Linked DNA regions of Homo sapiens: all the other regions are linked to region 3. The links are contacts of gene promoters, found by promoter capture Hi-C in blood cells and fetal thymus (Javierre and others, 2016). All regions are on one chromosome and are shown on one strand. Each heading gives the region's core, a stretch centred on a gene start or on the middle of the fragment in contact. The rest is flanking DNA. Distances are from core to core; before and after follow the strand shown.

What was found. The method cuts DNA at HindIII sites, captures the fragments that hold promoters and counts their contacts. A CHiCAGO score of 5 or more calls a contact.
Region 1: the fragment with the promoter of LINC00334 here is called in contact with the fragment with the promoter of SLC19A1 in region 3 in 2 of 17 cell types (M0 macrophages and endothelial precursors); the score reaches 7.6 in M0 macrophages.
Region 2: a contact is called between the fragment with the promoter of ADARB1 here and the fragment with the promoter of SLC19A1 in region 3, in 14 of 17 cell types (M0 macrophages, fetal thymus, total CD4 T cells and 11 more). The highest score is 20.7, in M0 macrophages.

Annotation. Positions count from the first base shown.
Region 1 is chr21:45,231,914-45,236,333 of GRCh38, reverse strand. LINC00334 (long intergenic non-protein coding RNA 334) reads right to left here and starts at 1,994. Exons shown (of 3, transcript NR_135279.1): 1 at 1,828-1,994. The HindIII fragment of the contact is 2,370 bases long and covers 1-2,252 here.
Region 2 is chr21:45,071,729-45,076,514 of GRCh38, reverse strand. ADARB1 (adenosine deaminase RNA specific B1) reads right to left here and starts at 1,935. Exons shown (of 11, transcript NM_001112.4): 1 at 1,722-1,935. LOC105372836 (a long non-coding RNA gene) reads left to right here and starts at 2,774. Exons shown (of 5, transcript XR_937796.3): 1 at 2,774-3,042. It also overlaps the pseudogene SSR4P1. RefSeq lists silencers at 1,982-2,181, 2,202-2,291. The HindIII fragment of the contact is 4,896 bases long and covers 306-4,786 here.
Region 3 is chr21:45,540,322-45,544,504 of GRCh38, reverse strand. SLC19A1 (solute carrier family 19 member 1) reads left to right here and starts at 2,065. Exons shown (of 6, transcript NM_194255.4): 1 at 2,065-2,137. RefSeq lists silencers at 1,792-1,871, 1,912-2,221, 2,572-2,631 and an enhancer at 1,425-1,937. The HindIII fragment of the contact is 3,738 bases long and covers 1-2,795 here.

The DNA.
Region 1 (4,420 bases), core at 745-3,244, 310 kb after region 3:
CCCAGTGCCCTGAAGGTCTGCCCACTTTCAGGATTCCTGGGGCTGGATGGGTCTGAGAAGCCAGGCTTCTGTTATGATGTCACTGACCTCATGGTGCACGGCGTGCCCTGTGTGAATCCCAGGGCTCCAGCCCCACCCCTGCTTGCCTGGGCAAGGGCTTGACATGAGGGATGCACAAGGTCACCTGAACCACCAAGGAGCTGGGGTGGGAGAGCCTGCCCTGAGGCAGGGACAACAGGGTGGCCCCTCCTGGCTGCTGCCACACTCACTGGTCACTCCAGGCATGCGCCTGGTTTATAAGCAAATTATCCAGGGCATTTTTCTCTCCAGGGCCCAAACATATTTCTCTACTACTTAAACAGAGGTAAATTGAATCCACTTAAAAGTACCTGCAGCACAGTTCCCCCCACCTATTTTTTCCCTCGGTTTTGTCGCAGAAAGAGGAGGCACCAAGGAGGCAATCACAGCAAAACTGAGTGACAACACAATGAATTCTAAAACAGAGGCTTGTCCCTTCAATGATCAAATCAGATTTGTCCATGGCAATATTCATCTTCAATTTAAACACAGACAGGTCATCCTCAAGAGATTACTTCCGCCTCAATTCACACAGGACAGGTGATGGGAAGCGATAAGAAACTGTGTCATATCCCCAAATACACTGCATACTGACCCACAGATGGGTGAAAGGGGTGCGCAGCTCTCTGCTTGGCAAGTGACAATATTCAACGGACAGTCAGCATTTTTGCTCTAGAATAGCTACATATAAAGCAATTTGACACATGCCAGGAAGAGGCGATCTTCTGCTTATCCTTTCAACGATTTTTAAAAATAAACTACTTTATAGGATTACATAGCATGAACTGACGGTTTATGAGGGAAGTTCTAGAATAAATAACAATGTACTCATAAGAAATGGATTTTTTTTTCTTTTATAAAAGGTAAACACCCAAATGAGATGGGTTCGCTATCTCACCGGGACACCCAGGCATCCATGCTAAGCTGATTAGTTCCAGGCCAAAGGAGAAAAACAAATAATAGTTTGAAGGTCGCCCTCCTCTGATTTTGTGTAAAAAATATCCCGGCTCTGCATAAGCCCTTCTGTCCTCATTCTCCAGTTCAACTGCTTGAGGTTTGCTTTTCTGAGAAGAAATGTGTTCTCCATATAAATGAGGCTCGGGCGTGGACAGTAAGGACACACACACAGCACAGAGGCTCTGGCCTGGACCCCCAGCCCCAGGAAGGGCCCTGCAGCTCAGACGACATTCAGTGCCCTGCCTGCTGGTTTGCCGCACTGGCTGGTGCCAGGCCTCGGGGGCAGGCAGGCTGGGGTGCACTCTAGTGTCTTGAGAAGCTCAGGATTGGCTGTAAGTCCACCACTGAGTGCTCTGGTTTGGGGTGACTTACCCCTTTGCAGACGAAACCTGAGAAATAGCACCCCGTCCTCAAGGCAGCCCCAGAGTCCTGCAGCCGGGCTGGGCTGGAGAAGAGGCTCACAGGGAAGCGGGCTACAAGTTTTTGGTTTTGCTCCTAATCTCTGAATTTTGAAAACCCGTAACCCCTCATATGCGTTTAGCTCACAATTCAATTTTTAAATTATACAGTTGTTTTGTTTTATAGAAAGGTTGTGATTTCTGTCCTAAATATTGATCTTTACAAAAAAAAACCTTTTGGTCCTCCTTTACATGTCCACGTTTGTGGCTCCTTCCACCGTGGCCACACCAACCTCTGCCTCCCCCTTCTGGGCACCCCTCACCACTCATCCCCGACACGGCCCCAAACCCCAGCCCTCTCTCCGCCCCAGCCCCTCCCTGCGCCCGGCATCACCTCGGGCCACCTGGGACCTCTGGCAGTTACCCTCGAGTCCTCGCGGTGACTGAGACCCCCAGGGCAGGATCCGTCTCCAGTTTAGGAAAAGCTCTAGGAACCAGTGGTCACTCTCAAAGGAGAACCCACGACCTGTGTGTGGCGGGGACTAGGACTCATCCGGGTCTGAACACGGTAAAGATGGACGCCTTCCGCTTCCGCCTGCCGCTTCCGCCTGCCGCTTCCGCCTGCCGCTTCTGCCGCCGCTTCTGCCGCCGCTTCTGCCTGCGCCCCCGCAAAAGGACTAGCTTTTGCTCCTTTGGAAGTTTTGGTCGTTCCTGGACGTGATTCGGCTTCTGTCACAAAATTTGACCCCAGTGCCATCTACTTTGCCTCCTGGAAGTCTTTTGTGCTTACCTCGCCCTACTTCTCTACAACAAAAAGCTTTAAATGGGGTCAAAAATTTAAAATTTATTTTGTGATCAAAAGCTTTTAATATCTCCTGAGTTATTTTCACAAGTAGTATCACTTCAGTTTTTCAGAAAACATATGTATGTTACAAACTGATAGATAACTATTAACACATAAACACATTTGATTGAAACTGCCTCGTTAATGAGAAGAGTGGGGCTGTTTTTCCAGCCGATTGGTTCCCACACTCAAGGAACAGGAGGACTCAGCTCCAGTGAGGCAGGCTTCAGTCTCAAGTATATTTTTCTCTTCATTTTTATAGACCATGTTAGGAAACTTTGTTTGCATGAATATGTAGATAAGGAGGTATAGTATAGCAATGGCCCTCAATTGTGTTCTGAACTCTTCTGAGTAATAGTTCCTAAATCCGATGATGATCTGAAATTTTAAAACTGTAAAAATTAGTTTAATGCTTTATCAGCTATCAACTCGGTTTTTCATTCAAGTGTTTTGAAAGCAAAGGATTAGAAACTACTTGACTTGCCAAAGGATGTGTTATCCAGTCAGTCTCAATTTCTGGAACATTTACTAAGAGGCTGTCCTTGTCTCAGTTTATCAAGGGACTGTCGTTTATCCCTGATTCTCTGTCACCTTATTTAATCTAATATAGTTTGAGGGGGTTGAGAACATTAAAATGTTGTTAATTTCATTGCTTTTTGGGGCCAATTTAATATTTTTGATAAAATGCTTTTATTATACTATTATTTTAAATGTGTTTTCATTGAATCCTTGAAGATGTAGTTCATTCTATTTATGGCAGATGTCCTCCATATACCCTAATCCTCCTTGTCAAACCAGTGAACCAAATTAGACATTTTTCGTCAGGAAAAGTCTGACCTACTTTTTCAATTGAAATAAAAGTGTTAGCATGCTTTTTCAAGGATATTAAAAAAAGAAAACCACTGAGAAATAAATTATAGAGGACATCTTATTAAATTACCAAAAGCAATAAAGTTATGATTTAAGACGTGTAGAGCTAATATAATTAATTGACCCACTTTATGATATGCCATTACAAGAAAATACATCTATATACCACTCTTCTTACTTAATTTGTAACACTTTAATGAAGCATGTGGGTAAATGTTCAGGTCATGTACTAAGTGAGGACTTGTGTGTATATGTTTATTGAACATTACTTTTAGGAGCAAAACACTAAATAAGAATCAACTATAGGCCAGGTGCAGTGGCTCACACCTGTAATCCTAGCTGTTTGGAAGGCCAAGGTAGGAGGATCACTTGAGCCCAGGAGTTCGAAACTAGTCTGAGAAAGATGGCAAGACTCCTACAAAAAATTTAAAAATTAGCTGGGTGTGGTAGCATGCACCTGTAGTCCCAGCTACTCAAGAGGCTGGGGTGGGAGGAGCCCAGGAGTTTGAGGCTGCAGTGGACTACGGTTGTGCTACTCCACTCCAGCCTGGGTGACAGAGACCCCATCTCTTATTAAAAAAATCAAGTATAAAAGTCATTTATAAACCCTCCCCCATTAATTTTGCTACGTATTACAGAAGTTCAGGAGGGGCTGTGCAGAGCTGGACCTCAGCCTCTGAGGTGGAGTGCTGCTGTCCTGCTACTGGCACCTGTGAAGGCGGGCAGTGAGACTCCAAAGCAACCTGCTGATGAGAACCAATAGCAGCTTTGCAGTTGCAGAAGCACTGCGGCTGAGCAGCAACAGCAAGCAAATGGCAGGAAATCACCTTCTCCCTCATCCTGTCTGCCATGGTCCCTCTTGTACTACCTTTGGCAGAATATAAAGCCAGCAGAGAATGGGAACATCATATTTGCAGGGTCCCAGCCTCAATATTATAAAGCGGAACGTAAATATTGAATTTGGAACTGAGAGATAAAGCTTCATAACTGACCCAAGTGGTAGATAGCATGAAAGGTCCAATGTGTCTTCACTCTAAGTCCTAGAAGGAAAGAATCAACATAATGTGGAAAACTAACAAATCCCGTAGCTGACAAAGTGTAAGGTGTGTCTGCAGTATTGTTTATGAGTATCTAAGAGTATTCAACTCATCCATAGAAAATAAGAGAAATGAGCAGACAGGCCAGTAGCCTGTGAGACACATGAGCCAGTAGACTGTGGAGAGAAAATGGGAGCATCAGAGAGGTATTCAGTATTCATAAGGCATTCAGTATT
Region 2 (4,786 bases), core at 686-3,185, 470 kb after region 3:
CCTTTTTTCCTTTCCAACTACAGCTTCAAATGTGATGTAGATGTAGTGGGATATACCCAGTCTTAGGAACCCTCAGACATCTAACAGGGCATCACTCACAGACAATGCATTCCTTTCAGAGTCTGTGTGAGTTCATCCTCTCCACCACAGGCAAGATATAGGCACCCAGCTCAGCCTGTCTCATCAAATACTTACCGAGCCCCCGTTGTGGCTGTCCATGCATACTGGACCCTGTCCTCCGGAGGAACCGCGCAATGAGAGACAGTTAATTCTCTTATCCAAGAAGGAACTGTATCAGCCAAGCTTTTATCCTTTCTTCCTTCTCCCTTTCCCCTCTGGGAAACCCTCAGCAGGCAAAAAGGATACAGCAGTCTCAACCCCAAGGAAAAGATGGTCATCAAAAGACAATTAGCTTTTCTATCTCCTAGAAACAACTGCTCTTAAGACAACCTAGCGTTTTGGAAAATGCAGCTCTGGGTGGCACCTTTCGAAGCAATAAAACATACGGCAAAATTTAAGAGGAAACAAAGAGGATTAAATACATATTTGTATTCTCAATTAAAAAAACTACGGTTCTATCATCTTAATTATGGAGTTAAACGTTAAAGAAACAAGTTTGATATCATGCCACTTTTCGTTATACTTCGAGAACGGAATGCAATAATGGTTAGTAAGAAGGAAGTAAAATGCCTGTATCAGAAGTAACAGCCCAAACCTGCTGACCAAAAATATTAACTGGGAACTAAACACCACGGTGCAGATCTCCGACATAGAAACCTGGACAGGAACACGTTTTAGGTTAGGTTTTCCAGCGTGTAAATCGGGACTCCAACACGTTTCAGCGTCCACAGCCCAATCTGACACCTTCCCTCGCACCCATCCACCACGCAATAATTTTCCTTCTGATGTGAACACGTCAAAAGTCACCTCGGGCCCCCAACTGCCCCAGATTGCTCCCGATCGCTGCAGACGCCCGGCACCCGCAGGAACTTCCCTGGCCCGGGCCGCCCGCGGCGCAGAGCATCCCGCGCGGACACTGCGCCCTCGGAAGGACACGCAGGACCGTCCAGGGCGCAGACTCGTCCCCAACGCAGTCTCCACTCCCGTGGCACAGCGTCCCCTCCCAAGGCAGCCTCCCCTGCCCGGGCCCAGCCTCATCCCGGGCGCAGCCTGCCGTCCCCCGGCGCAGCGTCCCATGCCGGGCGGAGCGTCTCCCCAGGGACATAGCCTACCGTCCCCAGGCGCAGCCTTGTTGCCAACGCAGCCTCCCGTTCCCCGGCGCAACCTTGTACCCGGGGCAGCCTCTGGTCCCCGGGCGCAGCCTCGTCCCCAGCGCAGCCTCCGATCTCCAGGGCACACCGTCCCCTCCCCAAAACGCAGTCTCGGTCCCCAGGGCGCAGCCTCGTCCCGGCGCACCTGCCCTCCCCGCGGCGCAGCGCGGCGCATCCCACGCGGACTCGGCGCCCTCGGGAGGGGACGCGGGGCCGCCCGGGCGCAGCTTCCTCCGGGAGCCGAGCGCCGGAGCAGACGGGCGACCCAGGAGGGTGGGTGCGAGGCGGTGCCGCGGCACCCTCGCTTCTCCGCGGGCGCCCTCCGCTCCCGGGACGGCCCGCAGCTCCGGCCCCACCACCAGTCCCTGCCCGGCGCTTACATAAACGCCGCCACCGCGGGGTCCGGAGCCCGCGCCCGCCCGAGCCGCCGCGGCCCCGCGCCGCCCTCACCTCAGCCGCAGCCGCGCCGCGCCTGGTCCTCCGCACGCGCGCCCCACGCTTCGGCCGCAGTCTCGCGCCGGGCGGCGCTCTGCCTCGTTGGTTGTGCGCAGCGGCGCGGCGTGGCCGTGGCCTCGCGCGGCCCGGAGCCCCGGCCGCCAACCTGGCCGCTTGGCCGCCGCTGCCGCCGCCGCCGCCGCCGCCGCCACGGCCGCCTCAGCGCCTCAGCCCCGCCGCCGGCGGCTCCGCCCCCTCCCCGCCCCCGCCGGCCCGCCGGGCGCGCGCACGCCGAGGGGGCGGGGGCGGCGCAGCGACGCCGGACGTGCGCGCGCTGGGGCGCCCGTGTCTGTCGTGGGCAGCCGGAGCTGTGGCACCTCCCTCACGACCACCTGCGGCGGACGGGCGCGGGGCCGTTGGGGCTGGAGCGCGGCCGGAGCTGAGAGACCGCGGCTGGGCGGCTCCGGAGCGTGGGGCGAGAGCGCGGGACCGGCCTGGCGTCGCGGCGCCGCCCGCCCGAGCGCGGCTGAGGAGACTCTGCCCGCCTTCGTTTTGGGGACGGGGTCTCACTGTCGCCCAGACTGGAGCGCGGTGGACCTCCGAGCTCACGCGATCCTGCCGCCTCAGCCTCCCTGGTAGCTGGGACCGCAGGCGCCCGGCGATTGGCGTTTGCGTTTTGCGGAGGTGGCGTCTCGCGGTGCTGCCCAGGCTCCCGGGCCCCCGCGCTCCTCCCTGCAGCGGGCGCTGCCCCCGCCGAGCCCCCGCCGAGCCCCCGCCGAGCCCCCGCCGAGCCCCCGCCGAGCCCCCGCCGAGCCCCCGCCGAGCCACCCCTGCTTCTCCCTCTCCCGGAGTTGCCTGGGACACGCGGGTCCCGCCGGCCCCCTCTCCCCGCCCGTCATCCTCACTGTAGACTCCGGGAGAACCAGGTCGCGGCCCAGGACCCTGGCTGGACACGGTTCCCGCCGTCTCCTGTTTAGTCCGCACTGACACTAGCAGCTGCTCCAGTTACCAACGTTTAGGTGATGGTGGTTTTGTTTGATTTTTTTTGTTTGTTTGTTTGTTTTAGGTTGATAGTAAAAGCATTTTTTTATAGCATATGCAATAGACCTACTCTTCGATTTATCTATATTTACTGACTGTTCCACAGTTATACCAAGAAATGTTTACACAGATGATGATAAGCATATGTAGAAATGCAACGTTTTCACTGACCGGAATAACCAGCTCCAGGCTGCAGTTCTCTGCACGAAGATAAAGTTTGATAGGCAAACTTGGCAGCTCCTGACCGCGGCGACCTGAGCCCAGAGGAGCAGCCGGGGGCGGTGGGCAGAGCCAGGTGTGGACAAGCGGGTGGGTCCCGCACCTGGGTGGGGGAAGCGGCAGGTTCCAGGGTCAAATTGAGGTTGTACTAGCCCTGGCCTCCAAACCTCAGGCGGCCCACTCTGCCCTCGGCCTCTTTCCTCCCTTGTAAAGTGGGGAGTAAGAGACCATCGCAAGCCAGGGATGGGGTGGCGCACACTGTGATCTCAGCCAGTCTGGAGGCTGGGGCTGGGCGGTGGGGGGGTGCGGGTCGCTTGTGTCTCAGAGCTGGAGCTGTGGTGTGCGAGGCCGAGGTCCGCGCCTATAAATGGCCGCTGCGCTCTGGCCCGGGCAACACTGAGACTCCGACTCTGGAAAACAACAAAACTTAAAAGACGAACACAGATGGAAGTTTGGGAGCCTGGTATGCGGTAAGCACTCCGCAGGTGTCAGCCGCCAGCCCGCAGTCCCGGACAGGTCAGGGGAAGGCCCGCGGTATGCAGCAGGCTGCCGGCTTCAGTCACTGCCTGGTGGAAAACAAGCCTGTCTTTGGGGCCAGCCAGCTAACAAGTGAGCCCTTCACCCCATCTGAAGGCGAAGCACCCAAAGGGGCAACCGTGGACGGCTAAATAAAAATCAAGACTCCTGGGACGCCTTCTCGGGACACATTCTTAAAGAGATACGTGCCTGAGGACGTTGTGTGTATTTCTGTGTAACAGGCCACCCCAAACCTCAGAGGGCGAAAACCTCTCTTCACTGCTCATGACTCTGTGGGCCTGCAGCTTAAGCCGGTTCAGCTGGGACGGCTTGCCTCGGCTCCATGGGGTGTCTGCTGGGCCCACTTACAGGCAGGCGCCCCGGGCAGATCCGGGCCACATGTCACCCACCCACCGCAGGCTGGCCGGGCCTCCCTCCCGTGGTGGCTGGGCTCCGTCGGCAGCAAGAAAAAGCAAATCCCCATGGTGCTTCCCTCCATCTCCCCAGGAGGGTGAGATGGCCGGGGCCTGAGTGGACGTGAGGCACCGCACAGGGGACGGGCACGGCAAGCATGGTTCATCGGGGCTGTCACTGCAGAAGTCTTCCACAGGCCTTCGCTGAGGTGCGGGTTGGTGTGGGGAATACAAGGGAACTCCCCAGAATGGAGGCTGCTTGTGCAAGTTTCAACTTGTCCTTTTTCTCCCTCCAGAGCAGCAGAGAGCGGATGGCGCCCAAGGCCGGGACCCTCTGCTGCTCCCACAGGCCTCTCAGGCGGCTCTGCAGGACCAGCCAGCAGCCTCTGATGCTCCCTTCCTATTCCATGGCTTCAGGTGCCATCCTCTCCACAGAGACGGTTTCTATTGTGACGCTCTCCCTGACTTGGAAGAATGGCACTGGGAACATTCCCCTTGGTGCTGATGTCGGGGAGGAAAGCAGTTTCCAGTCGCCTGGGGCCAGGACATGGCGTTCCCAGCTGTTGTAGAGCATGAAGCACCAGGATGCCCATTCGGGTGCCTGCTGAGATCAGGCTCTTTGAGAAGGAATCCTGTGGTCGCCTGAGGAAGTCCAAAAAAATTTCGAGGACATCTCAGCCATCCATCCCCTGTTCACTGTGGAGGTTGAACACCGGGGCTCCTGGAGGGGGGCCCTGGGTCTCCACAGAAGTGCTGGCAGCCACCATCCACTTCCTGGCCTTCCGTGCCCGCTCCACCTCTGTTCTGTTGTTTACTGTCTCCTTTGTGGGAATTATGGAATAAACAATCACTCTGGTGTCCTGGAAAATAAACCTGATGCTGGAGGGCTTG
Region 3 (4,183 bases), core at 816-3,315:
CCAGATGCCAGTGTCACTCCCAAGTCACCTGCGTTTGTAAATCTCTATTTTGGGTGGAGCCCTCTGGAAGCCCACGCCCCACTGTCTGTGGCCACTCCTCGCAGTCCTCAATGGAGGTTTCTGTAAGTTCTTCACGAGTCTCCTGGCTCTTCCCTCAGAGCAGCTGCCTCTAGATTACAACTGCCAAGTGCTGTTGGTGGCAGAAGCCCTACCTCCCCACTCCGAAGCAGCTCCTGCAGGAAACCTGGGCCTTGTGTGGCTGGGGAACTCCCAGGACTCCTGCCACGCAGGGGGACCCGAGGGCAGCTTGGGCAGGCCCCTCGCGGCCGGGGGCGGATTCGCTCGGCTACACCTGACCGGAGAGACAGGTGAGGGACTGGTCTTTGTGGGTCCTGCGGGGTCCCCTTGGGGCTGTGGCTCCCTGCCTTGCTGTCTCCAGGCGGGAAGGGGGTGGGAGCCATCCTTCTGTGGGAAGGGGTCTAGGAGCCCCGCTGCTGTTCATCCCCACTTCCCCTCGGCTTCCTGGCCTGTCCTGCGTGTAAAGGGAGCAGGCTGCCCTGGCGAGCTGGCCCCATGGCTGGCTCCTCTCTGCCTGGAGGGAAGGAAGGGCCCCTCCTCCTCCGCGTTGCCCCTCCTGTCTTCCAGCAGGGCCAGGTTCTGCCCACCCGTGGAGAAGGCCAGTACAGGGGAGAGAGCCAGGGCTCCCACAAAGCAGGGGGTCCCTCCAGGTGAGGCGCTCCATCCTGTAGTGTTCCCTTAAATTCTGCAAGCTACCCCAGATCCCCCATTTCCAGCCAACAAATCCTTTTTAAGTTCCTTTGAGATTTGTTCGTGTGGCTTGCTACACTCAGGACTCTGGAAAGAAGGCCCAGGCCAGAGCTTTGGGCAGGCGGCCATTTAGGGCAAGGGCCCTGTGTTGGCTTCCTGGTGGGGTTGCCCTGCTGGTGGGCGGGAGACCAAGAGCACCCCCGCAACACCAGGAGGCAGGTCGCGGATTGTGCTGTCTACACTCCGGAAGGGGTACATTCCAGGGGCTGCTGCCCCAGACTCACCCCTCGCCTGGGACCCGCACTCTTGAGCTGTGGGTACCACGGTGGCCGTCCCCTTCTGTTCTGTGCAGTGGACTTCCTGGCTCCTCCTTAGCCTTGGGGCCCCCACAGCCCTCGGCTTGGCTTCCCTCCCCATAGCCAGGCCCTGGGTAACTCCAGGGGAAAGTGACCCTGAGGCCCCCCACTTCTCCCCGTGTCCTGCACAGGCCTTGGGCTTTCGGCGGTGCTGTCTGCCGCAGCCCCACGCCTTCCTGGGAGAGTGGCCCAGGCCCCCCTTCCTGAGTGTGACTGCGCTGCCGTCTGCGAGGCCTGCGCGGGTCTCCCCCGGGCTGTCCCTGCTGGGATGGGGACTGGTGGCCCCGGGCCACGTCCTGGATCCGGCTTGCTCCTTGGTACAAGCCCGTACGGGTCACGGTCAGGCAGGAGGGCGGGCGGCGGGGTCCCGGGGGCGCCGAGTTCGGGGCCGTGCGGTCCCCAAGAGCAGGCTGTGCGTGTCCCTGTTGGAGCCCCACGAAGGCGGCCCAGGGCCACCCCTGAGGGCGCGTGGGCCCGACCCGCGTCCCGGATCCAGCTTGCGGCCAGGAATGCAGGTGTTCCAGGGTGCCAAAAGGAAAACGCACAAGGCCTCGTCGAGGAGGGGGGGTCAGGAGGGGACCGGGGGTGGGAAGAACGCGGGGGAGAGGGATGGCAGGGTGCCCGCCCGAGGGACCGACACCTCCGCGAGTGGCACCCCAGGATGCTGACGCCGGCGGGGGTGGGGGCCCGAGGGGCGGTCGGGGTCAGGGGGCGGCCCCAGGGGTAGGGCCGCAGCACGAGGGGCCGCGTGACCCCGGCGGTGACCGGGTGGGGAGAGGCCGGCGCCGGGGCTGGGAGACGGCCGTGGGTGGGAGGGTGCCCCGTGGGGACGCTCCTGCCGCAGCGCCCGGCCACGCGCGAGGCCCCGCCCTCAGGACGCGTTCGGCGGGACGGACCCGCCCACCCCGCAGCCGCGCGCCCGCCGCGCCGCCTTGTGGGCGCTGTAGTCCCGGAGTCCGCGTGCGCGGGGCCGGGTCCGGGAGCCCCAGGGCAGCCGCCCCGCCGAGTCGCAGGTACCGGTGGGGAACGGGGCCACGGGGCCGCGTGTCGGGGGCTGCGGGGTGTCTCGGGGCCCTGGGGTGAGTGCGGGGCGCGGGCCGAGGTTTGCAGGGCCCTGTGAGGTGAGTGTGGGGGCTGGCGCTGGGGTCCGCGGGGCCCTGGGGAGGGTGCGGGGCGTGGGCCGGGGTCTGCGGTCTGCAGCCTGGGGTCCGCGGGGCCCTGGGGAGGGTGCGGGGCGTGGGCCGGGGTCTGCGGTCTGCAGCCTGGGGTCTGGGGGGCCCTGGGGAGGGTGCGGGGCGTGGCCGGGGTCTGCGGTCTGCAGCCTGGGGTCTGGGGGGCCCTGGGGAGGGTGCGGGGCGTGGGCCGGGGTCTCCGCGGGGGTCGCGGTGGCCCGGGCGCCTGGCAGAACCGTTGCTGTGCAGCGGGTTTCCCGCCGCTCGCTTTCCGCCGCAGCCTGCGAATGGGGTGGGGAGTCCCGGCCCCCAGCCTGCCCTCCGCGTCATCCTGGGGCGCCAAGTCCCACCCCCGGGTCTGGAGGAAAGCGTGGATCCGGCGTTCGCGCCCAGGCACGTGTTGCTTCGGGACGGGCCAGCCGGTGGGTGAACCCTGCCAGCCACGCGTGGGGCGGGCCCCTGGCACATCTCCAGACCATTGTCTCCTGTGCCAGAAGCTTTGTAGGTGCAACTTCCCCTTGGAGCAGCTGTGGGTGCGGATCCAGCGGAGCAATCCCGAGGCGTCTCAGAGAGAGCCTGGACAGCCGCTGGAGCCTTTCCCGAGTGGGTCCTTCCAACACCGCTACAGCAGGAAAGCCATCCCCCTAGGGTCCTGTCCATCGGAAACTCCTGTCCTGGGGAGTCTGGCCTGCCTGGCCTCAGGACACAGGCCAACTAAGCTGGCCCCGAAATCCAGAATGCATCCAGAGGGAAGGTGGGATAAAGTCCTTGGAGGCGCCTGTTGGCCGCCCTGTAAAGAGGTGGCCTCCCCCTACGGAGACCCGAGGATCCCCGCACAGCCCAGATTCAATCAGCAGAGCCGAGGTGCCTCTGGCCCAGTGCACCTGCCTGCCCTGTCCAGGCCTGGGAGCCAGGCTGCATCTCACTGGCCGCCTTTGCCTGGGTGCCACCTGTGCACTGCTTGTTGCAATTGCTAATTGCTTTCTTTCCGAAGGGGCTTTGGTGGATTTTTATAATTCCAGATAGTACAGTTATCTCTGCTGGACACAGATGAGAAAGAGTGCTTCTCGGGTGTTTGGGCCTGCAGCAGTGATAGCCGGAGGGTCTAATTATGCTGTTAGGAACCCTGAACTTGGTCATCTGAACAGGGGTGGGAGGGTGTGCAATGCTTTCTTCTTCTTCTTTTTAAACTAGCAGGCGTTCTAAAAAACATAACGAACATTCTTGGTTAGCCTTCCAGAGTAGGAGCTGGTTTAAACACGGAATGATAGGTGGCGTTTGCTTGTGTTTTGATTGCGGGTCTCTGGCCTTCTCTGGTGCTTGGAAGGACAGGGCCTGGGTGGGGCTGGTCACTGTGGACAGTGGGGCCGGGGATTTGCAGGGGCTGTTACAACCTTCTCCTGAAGGCAGGGATTCTCTCTGCTTCCCCGTGGCCCTCCTGTCTGGTCGGGGACTTCCTTCAGATGCCGGGAAGAGGCCTCAAGCTGTATGGGACTGGGCTGGGGTCTGGACACTTGGAGTCTAGGCGTCCCCTGGCTTGGGGCTGCGTTTCTATGATGGTGACCAAGTTCCCTATCTTTCCTCTTGGAGGTGGTCTGGGCCGTGATGGCCAAGCCTCTGTCAGTGGGCTACGTTCACGGCACATAAGTTGAGTATGCTGGCAGCAGAGGCTGACTGTTAAGACCAGCAGCAGCCCCTTGCTGGCGGAGACTCTGGCTGTCTCTCCAAGGAAGGAATGTTCTGGTCGCTTCTGGAGGTGGCACCTTTCAGAACAGGGGGCCCAAGTACCCAGGGCTCCCGGGCCCCTGGGGGTCCTGTGGGTGGGGATCTGACTCCTGCGGCCATGGACTGTGGGCGCAGACCCTGGGCTTAGTTCAGCTCCTGATG